3 separate regions of the Homo sapiens genome follow, and all the other regions are linked to region 3. The links are contacts of gene promoters, found by promoter capture Hi-C in blood cells and fetal thymus (Javierre and others, 2016). All regions are on one chromosome and are shown on one strand. The core of a region is centred on a gene start or on the middle of the fragment in contact, and the rest is flanking DNA. Distances in the headings are between cores, read along the strand shown.

Region 1 (2,711 bases), core at 147-2,646, 140 kb after region 3:
TAAATCATAACCCAACTTCTGCCACCTAATATATGTATGACCTTGGTTAAATTAAACCAGCAGTCCCCAACCTTTTTGGCACTGGGGACCAGTTTCATGGAAGACAATTTTTCCACCAGGGGAGGAATGGTTTCGGGATGATTCAAGCACATTACATTTATTTTGCACTTTATTTCTATTATTATTACATTATAAGGTATAATAAAATAATTATACAACTCATCATAAAGTAGAATCAGTGGGATCCCTGAGTTTGTTTTCCTGCAACTAGATAGTCCCATCTGATGTTGATGGGAGACAGTGAGAGATCATCAGGCATTAGATTCTCATAAGGAGCAACCTAGATCCCTCGCATGCGCAGTTCACAATAGGATTCATGCTCCTATGATAATCTAATGCCGCTACTGATCTGACAGGAAGCAGAGCTGAGGCGGTAATGCAGGCAATGGGGAGTAGCTGTAAATACAGATGAAGCTTCTCTCACCAGCCATTCACTTCCTGCTGTGCGGCTCAGTTCCTAACACGTCACGGACTGGTACTGGCCCCACGGCCCAGGGGTTGGGGACCCCTGACTTAAACTAAGGGCCAGCTTTCCAGAATAACATCCACTTTGAGGGCTTGTTGAGTGGATTAAGTCAAAATGTTGGTATACTTGGCTGGTGCGGTGGTTCACACCTGTAATCCCAGCACTTCGTGAGTCTGAGGCGGGTGGATCACCTGAGGTCAGGAATTTGAGACCAGCCTGGCCAACATGATGAAACCCCATCTCTACTAAAAATACAAAAAATTAGGCCGGGCGCGGTGGCTCACGCCTATAATCCTAGTACTTTGGGAGGCCAAGGCGGGTGGATCATTTGAGGTCAGGAGTTTGAGATCAGCCTGGCCAATATGGTGAAACCCTGTCTCTACTAATAAGTACAAAAATTAGTCAGGTGATAGTGGCGTGTGCCTGTAATCTCAGTTACTCGGGAGGCTGAGGCAGGAGAATCCCTTGAGCCTGAGAGGCAGAGGTTGAGGTGAGCTGAGATTGGGCTGTTGTTGAGTTGTAGGAGTTCTTTATATATTATAGATATTAACCCCTTATAAGATATATGATTTGATATTTCCTCTCATTCTGTTGGTTGCCTTTTCACTGTCCTTTCCTTTTTTTGTTTTTGTTTTTTGTGGGGCAGAGTTTTGATCTTTTGCCCAGGCTGGAGTGAAGTGGTGCAATCTCAGCTCACTGCAACCTCCACTCCCCAGGTTCAAGCGATTCTCCAGCCTTAGCCTCCGGAGTAGCTGGGATTATAGGCGCCCGGCACCATGCCTGGCTAATTTTGTACTTTTAGTAGAGATGGGGTTTCACCATGTTGGCCAGGCTGGTCTCAAACTCCTGACCTCAGGTGATCCACCCGCCTCGGCCTCCCAAAGTGCTAGGATTACAGGCTTGAGCCACCGTGCCCAGCCTGTTGTGTCCTTCGATGCACAGAAAAGACTCTTTTCTCTACTGAACGCCCACAGCACCCTTGTCAAAAATCATTTGACTAGTCAGGGCACAGTGGCTCACGCCTGTAATCCCAGCACTTTGGGAGGCCGAGGCGAGAGGACTGCTTGAGGTCAGGAGTTCGAGACATGCCTGGGCAACATGGCAAATGGCAAAACCCCGTCTCTACACACAATGCAAAAGTTAGCTGGGCATGGTGGGTGGCGTGTGACTACCGGCTGTCTCAACTACCCAGGAGGCTAAGGCGGGAGGATCTCTTGAGCCCAAGACGTCCAGACTGCAGCGAGCTTTGATTGTGCCACTGAACTCCAGCCTGGGCGATGACAGAGCAAGGCTCTGTCAAAAAAAAAAAAAAAAAAAAAAAAAAATCGGCCGGGTGTGGTGGTTCACGCTTGTAATCCCAGCACTTTGGGGGGCCGATGCGGGCAGACCACGAAGTCAAGAGATCAAGACCATCCCGGCCAACATGGTGAAACCTCGTCTCTACTAAAAATACAAAAATTAGCTGGGCGTGGTGGCGTGCGCCTGTAGTCCCAGCTACTCGGAAGGCTGAGGCAGAAGAATAGCTTGAATCCGGGAGGCGGAGGTTGCAGTGAGTCGAGATCGCGCCACTACACTCCAGCCTGGCGACAGACTGAGACCCCGTCTCAAAAAAAAAAAAAATCATTTGTATATGCGAAGGTTTTGTGCCACAAACTTTTGTGGCTGTTGATACAAACGACATGGCCTCTGCCTTAAGGAAGCCACAGTCGAATTAAATAGATTCCGTTTCAAGTAGCATCTGTCCTGTGTGCTTAGTGGGCACTGGGCCCATGTTTTCCCACATTTTACCCTTTAAGCTTCTGATCCAACCGGTGAGATAGATAGGATGATCCTCTTTAGTAGAGGGGTAAGCTTAGTCCCCTGAGAGCGCGGCTATGGCTTATGCGAGGGTACGGACAGTCAGGATTTGAACCCAAAGTTCCTGGCTCCATGTGTCATGCTACCTCCAGTCAGATGTTCTCACCTCCAAAACTTGGGCAGAAGTGAACTGAGATGCTCTCTACTGAGCAACTCTTCAGCTCCAGCATCCTATACATTAAGGAGTCACTAAAAGTCAGGGTCCACGAGAAAGGTGCAGATCGGGGTGCACAGAAGAGCGGAGTCCAAAACACCACTCCCAGCCCCAGTGGACAGAGTCCTCAAGTGGCAGCCCTGCAACTCTGAGCGGATGCCGAGTCCTCACCGG
Region 2 (2,716 bases), core at 102-2,601, 230 kb after region 3:
TCTGGCCTGTAATACCAGCAACCTGGGAGGCCGAGGTGGGAGGATCATTTGAGGCAGGAGTTGGAGACTAGCCTGGCCAACATAGTGAGACCCCATGTCTACTTTATTAAAAGAAAAAAACAGGCCAGGCGCAGTGGCTCACACCTGTAATCCCAGCACTTTGGGAGGCCAAGGCGGGCAGAACACCTAAGGTCGGGAGTTCGAGACCAGCCTGACCAACATGGACAAACCCCGTCTCTACTAAAAATACAAAATTAGCTGGGCATGGTGGCACTTCCAGCTACTCTGGAAGCTGAGGCAGGAGAATTGCTTGAATCCAGGGCGGAGGTTGCAGTGAGCTGAGATCACACCATTGCACTCCAGCCTGGGCGACAAGAGCAAAACTCCGTTTCAAAAAAAAAAAAAAAAAAGAAAAGAAAAGAAAAAAGAAAGAAAGAAAGAAAAAGAATCAGTGAGTATTCACCAAGGCTCCCAGGGCTAGGCCAAGTACTAGAGCTCAGGATACGGAGATGACTCAGACCAGGCCCCAGACACTTGCAGTCTAATTGTGGAGCCAGACATGGAAGTGAGGAATTCAAGTATCTTGTGAGAAGTGCGAGAACAACAGTATCTGTAGGATGCTGTGGGAATTCACAGTCCAAAGCAGCCACCTCTGCCTGAGGTTGGCAGGGAGACCTCACAGAGGCAAAACTGAGGACGTGCTTGAGGGATGAGGAAGAGGTTTGAGGGGAAGACAGAGGGTGTTCCAGGCAGAGGGATCAGCAACTGCAAAGCTGTGGAAATGTGAGACCCTACACACTGGTTCAGGAAGCTTCAGCAGATCCTACTGAAGGTGGCTTATGCCTGTAATCCCAGCTACCTGGGAGGCTGAGGCTGGAGGACTGCTTGAGCCCAGGAGTTCAAGACCAGCCTTAACAACATAGCAAGACCACATCTCTAAAAATTCAGAAAAAAAGGCTGGGCACAGTGGCTCATGCCAGTAATCCTAGCACTTTGGGAGGCCAAGGCGGGCGGGATTGCCTGAGGTTAGGAGTTCGAGACCAGCCTGGCCAACATGGTGAAACCCCGTCTCTACTAAAAATACAAAAATTAGGTGTGCGTGGTGGCAGTCGCCTGTAATCTCAGCTACTCGGGAGGCTGAGGCGGGAGAATCGCTTGAACCCAGGAGACATAGGTTGTAGTGAGCCAAGATCACACCATTGCACTCCAGCCTGGGAGATGAGCGAAAATCTGTCTCCAAAAAATAAATAAATCAATTAATAAATAAATCAGTAAAAAAGAACCGGGCCCGGCGCGGTGGCTCACGCCTATAATCCCAGCACTTTGGGAAGCTGAGGCGGGCGCATCACTTGAGGTCAGGAGTTCGAGACCAGCCTGGTCAACATTGCGAAACCCTGTCTCTACTAAAAATACAAAAATTAGCCGGGTGTGGTAGTGCGCGCCTGTAATCCCAGCTACTCGGGAGGCTGAGGCAGGTGAATCACTTGAACACGGGAGGCGGAGGTTGCAGTGAGCCGAGATCGCGCCACTGCACTGCAGCCTGGGCGACAGAGCGAGACTCCGTCTCAAAAATAAATAAATAAATAAATAAATAAATAAATAAATAAATATAAATAAAATATAAAAAGTAGCATTGATGTTTACAATATCCCTGAGCGGCAGGCGTTTCTCCCTTTTGCAGATGCTCAGTGGCTTGGCCGGAGATACATCCAAGTGGTGGGTGTAGCCTGGGGGTTCAATCCTCCTGTGGCGCCCCAGAACCCGGTGCCTCCTCCAACGTCCGGCATCTGATGAGGATCCGACCCAGGCGGGCGGCGGCGGGATTCGCTCTTCCCCTTCGCTCCCCGCGAGAAAGCCCCGAGGGCCGCGGCGGCGCAGAGCCGGTGACAGTTGAAGCTTAGGCGGGAAGAGGGAGGCGCGAGGCGGGAAGAGGGAGTTTGGGCCTCGGCAGCCGCCGTACAAACACCGCTCTGGTCACCATGGCAACAGCGGGATGCCGCGAACGGCTTCTGGGCGGGGCCGGTCCCTCGGACGATTGGACCTAGCTTGGCGCGGAATCCGTGAATTGCCCGCGGCCCGAGGGTGCAGGTGATGGGTGCTGACCGACTGGGGAAGCCCGGAGTGTGGGGACTGAGGAGGGGAGTGGCCTGGGGCGCGCTGGAGCCTGCGAGGAAGGCGCCGCCTCGGATCCCCCGCCCCCCATTCCCCTTCCCGAATTCCACCCTCCGGCCCAGCCATGGCCTCAGTTTCCCCAAACAGGAAAGGGAAGGAGGGTGGGCACCCCGGTCTAACGGTGCCTCTCAGCCTCTGAGACCCAGAACCTTCCTTCTGCAGCTCCCGGACTGACTGGCTCTGCCCTTCCCCATGGACGTAAGTCCGGGCCCCTTCCCCTCTCTGGGCCCCCTCAGCGCCCTCTCCTAACCCCGAATGGGCCTGTCTTCCAGCACGGACTGGGGAGGGGGCTTCTACCCAACAGAGACTACAACCTGCCAGCTCAGGACGAGAGCTGTCAGGAAGAGTCCAGGAATGGACTTCCCACGGGAGGGCACATTTCTGGTATTCCTGGCAAGATAAGGAGTTGACTAAGTAATCCACGAGAAAAGGCATTTCCGGCAGAGGAAACAGTCTGGGGGTGAGAGGGAGGCTGCAGCATTTGGGGAACTGCTAGGGCTATCGTGTGTTTGGAAGAGGGGGAGGGAGAGAGGTAGGCAGGGCT
Region 3 (2,700 bases), core at 173-2,672:
GGCTGGAGTGCAGTAGTGCGATCTTGGCTCATTGCAACCTCCACCTCCCGGGTTCAAGCGATTCTTCTGCCTCAGCCTCCCAAGTAGCTGGGATTACAGGCGCCCACCACCACGCCCAGCTAATTTTTTGTGTTGGCCAGGCTGGTCTCAAACTCCTGACCTCGTGAGTTGCCCACCTCAGCCTCCCAAAGTGCTGGCATTACAAGCGTGAACCACCATGCCCGGCCTGCACTCTTCTTTGAACAGAACTCTGTTCTTGTCCTGGGGCCTCTACCCTTGCCATTCCCCTGCCCAGTATGTTCCTCCCTGTTCTTCACATTACCTGTGCCTTCCTGTCAATCAAGATCTTTGCTTCTCACCCTCTCTGAGGTCCAACCCTGAACCTCAGGTCCTCCAAGACAGAGGCCTGGGGACCTGCATGTTTAACCAGCTCCCCAAGTGATGAGTGAGGTCCAGGCAGGTATGGTGTACACCACCTCCATCCCTTCCATGTATCTTACCTTCCTCTTCTCCAGGAAGCTCAGCCCGGAGCCAGAAACGGGAGGCCCGCCTGGACAAGGTGCTGTCGGACATGAAGAGACACAAGAAGCTGGAGGAGCAGATCCTTCGTACCGGGAGGGACCTCTTCAGCCTGGACTCGGAGGACCCCAGCCCCGCCAGCCCCCCACTCCGATCCTCCGGGAGTAGTCTCTTCCCTCGGCAGCGGAAATACTGATTCCCACTGCTCCTGCCTCTAGGGTGCAGTGTCCGTACCTGCTGGAGCCTGGGCCCTCCTTCCCCAGCCCAGACATTGAGAAACTTGGGAAGAAGAGAGAAACCTCAAGCTCCCAAACAGCACGTTGCGGGAAAGAGGAAGAGAGAGTGTGAGTGTGTGTGTGTGTTTTTTCTATTGAACACCTGTAGAGTGTGTGTGTGTGTTTTCTATTGAACACCTATAGAGAGAGTGTGTGTGTTTTCTATTGAACATCTATATAGAGAGAGTGTGTGAGTGTGTGTTTTCTATTGAACACCTATTCAGAGACCTGGACTGAATTTTCTGAGTCTGAAATAAAAGATGCAGAGCTATCATCTCTTAAAAGGAGGGGCTGTAGCTGTAGCTCAACAGTTAGGCCCCACTTGAAGGGAGAGGCAGAATTGTACTCACCCAGATTGGAAAATGAAAGCCAGATGGGTAGAGGTGCCCTCAGTTAGCACCTGTCCCATCTCGGGCCCTCCAACTCCTCCCAGTCCCACTCCAGTGCAGCCAGCTGGCTCCAAGGTAGAAACCCATGAGCACTCAGGGAGCAGTGTGCCTTCAGCTGCAGCAGAAGCAGCCCGGAGGATAAAATGAGAACCAGCTGCACACGGGCCCTTTAACTCCCAAGCCCCACCCCTGGGCTTGGCCTGCCTTGCCCTGCCGGGAAGTGATCCCCAAGGCAGGGTGAGAGTTCCCCATCTGAGGCGTTTGTTGCAGCTACCTGCACTTCTAGATGTGAGTACATTGTACTAGCCCCCCAAACCCCAAATCAGGGGCAGATCTTTGTATCCCTTGAGGCTCTCTTTAGTCCTGTCTTGCTTTGAAGGGCCTTGCTTCTGCTGGGGCAGGGAAAACATGTCTGAATCAGAGTGGGGAAGGAGGATGGGTGGTGGCTTTGCTTTTGGAGGTTTCACTTTCCAATAGTTGGGAGTCTTCTGGGTTTTGAAGTAAAGGCAGATTAACACCAACACCGGTCCCCCACCCCCCTGCAACTCTCAGGCCTCTCTCTGACTTCAGGGTCCCACCTGGGAAATCAGGTGGGGAACCTTACAGGGTCATTCAGACCCCATCTTAGCCCTAGATCGGTGCTTGCTCTACTCACCTGCACTGTCCTGGGGACCTGGGCTCTGGCCTGTCACCTTGAGCTCCAAGAATGTGACCTGTACCCATTCAGGCCCCTTAACTCTGACAGATGAGGGTTTCTTACTCCTCCATGCAGGGCTGGGCCAGCTGTTGGTCTCAGTCGATCATTCAGGAAGTCATTAGCAGAGTGATTTCCAGAAGGCGTAGAATTTAGTGACCAAGGTTCTTTCCTTTTTGGGAGGAGAAAGTGAAAACTAGGATGCTCAGCTGGACCCACCAGCCTGAGATTCTGGGGATTTTAGAGCTGTCCCTTGGGGAGCCAAGCACTTGGGGGTGGAGGTGATAGCGAGGCTGATGGCCCCTGTGTTCTCAGCTCTCTGCCTGGGTAGCCCCTGGGTGATGGGGGAGAGGCCAGCTGTCACGTGGGGTATCAGGTGGCTCTGCCAGAAACTCCCTTGGCACACAGAGCACTGGGTCGGCCCTCGGGTGTGGCTGTTTGGGCAGGACAGCCCTCTGTATGTAGCCTTGAGCAGGTAGGGGGGCCACCTTGAGTGGGTGGCCCAGAGACAGCCTCAGGGCTCCAAGGTAACGGGGTGCTCAGGTTATCTTGGGTGCTGCCCTCCCAGGTTCTGGGGGAGCAGAGGCTGGGCGCTGGCCCAACTTACAGGAAACACTCACCTTTGAACTGCCATTAGCACCATCTGGGCAGTACACAGCCCCACCCAGGTCCTCTAGTTCTTGTTCTCGGCTTAGAATCTTTGTGTTTCTGCCTGAGAAGCCACTGCCTCCTAGTTTGTGGTCTCTACAGTTATAGCCAGGTTGGACTTCCGGCTCCGTCCTTTGATAACTGTGTGCTCTTGGGCAAATTTCTTAACTTGCAG

Evidence for each region. Contacts are between HindIII fragments. The CHiCAGO score rates a contact against its expected background, and 5 or more counts as called.
Region 1: a contact is called between a fragment that was not itself captured here and the fragment with the promoter of MVP in region 3, in 1 of 17 cell types (M0 macrophages). The highest score is 5.7, in M0 macrophages.
Region 2: a contact is called between a fragment that was not itself captured here and the fragment with the promoter of MVP in region 3, in 4 of 17 cell types (M0 macrophages, megakaryocytes, fetal thymus and 1 more). The highest score is 6.6, in M0 macrophages.

What each region holds. Positions count from the first base shown.
Region 1 is chr16:29,959,013-29,961,723 of GRCh38, forward strand. No RefSeq gene overlaps it. Among named protein-coding and RNA genes, the nearest start is that of TMEM219, 1.7 kb to the right of the region's middle. RefSeq lists an enhancer at 2,440-2,549. The HindIII fragment of the contact is 1,848 bases long and covers 473-2,320 here.
Region 2 is chr16:30,051,130-30,053,845 of GRCh38, forward strand. LOC112694756 (uncharaterized LOC112694756) reads left to right here and starts at 2,022. Exons shown (of 14, transcript NM_001365304.2): 1 at 2,022-2,088; 2 at 2,335-2,370. The coding sequence starts at 2,365. It also overlaps a transcript of TLCD3B not described here. RefSeq lists an enhancer at 2,425-2,716. The HindIII fragment of the contact is 1,085 bases long and covers 810-1,894 here.
Region 3 is chr16:29,819,040-29,821,739 of GRCh38, forward strand. It overlaps MVP (major vault protein), which reads left to right and starts at 1,423. Exons shown (of 15, transcript NM_005115.5): 1 at 1,423-1,471. It overlaps PAGR1 (PAXIP1 associated glutamate rich protein 1), which reads left to right. Exons shown (of 3, transcript NM_024516.4): 3 at 516-2,700. The coding sequence ends at 715. It overlaps MVP-DT (MVP divergent transcript), which reads right to left and starts at 1,328. Exons shown (of 4, transcript NR_186424.1): 1 at 1,145-1,328; 2 at 501-562. RefSeq lists enhancers at 1,067-1,136, 1,828-2,394, 1,857-2,146. The HindIII fragment of the contact is 7,186 bases long and covers 1-2,700 here.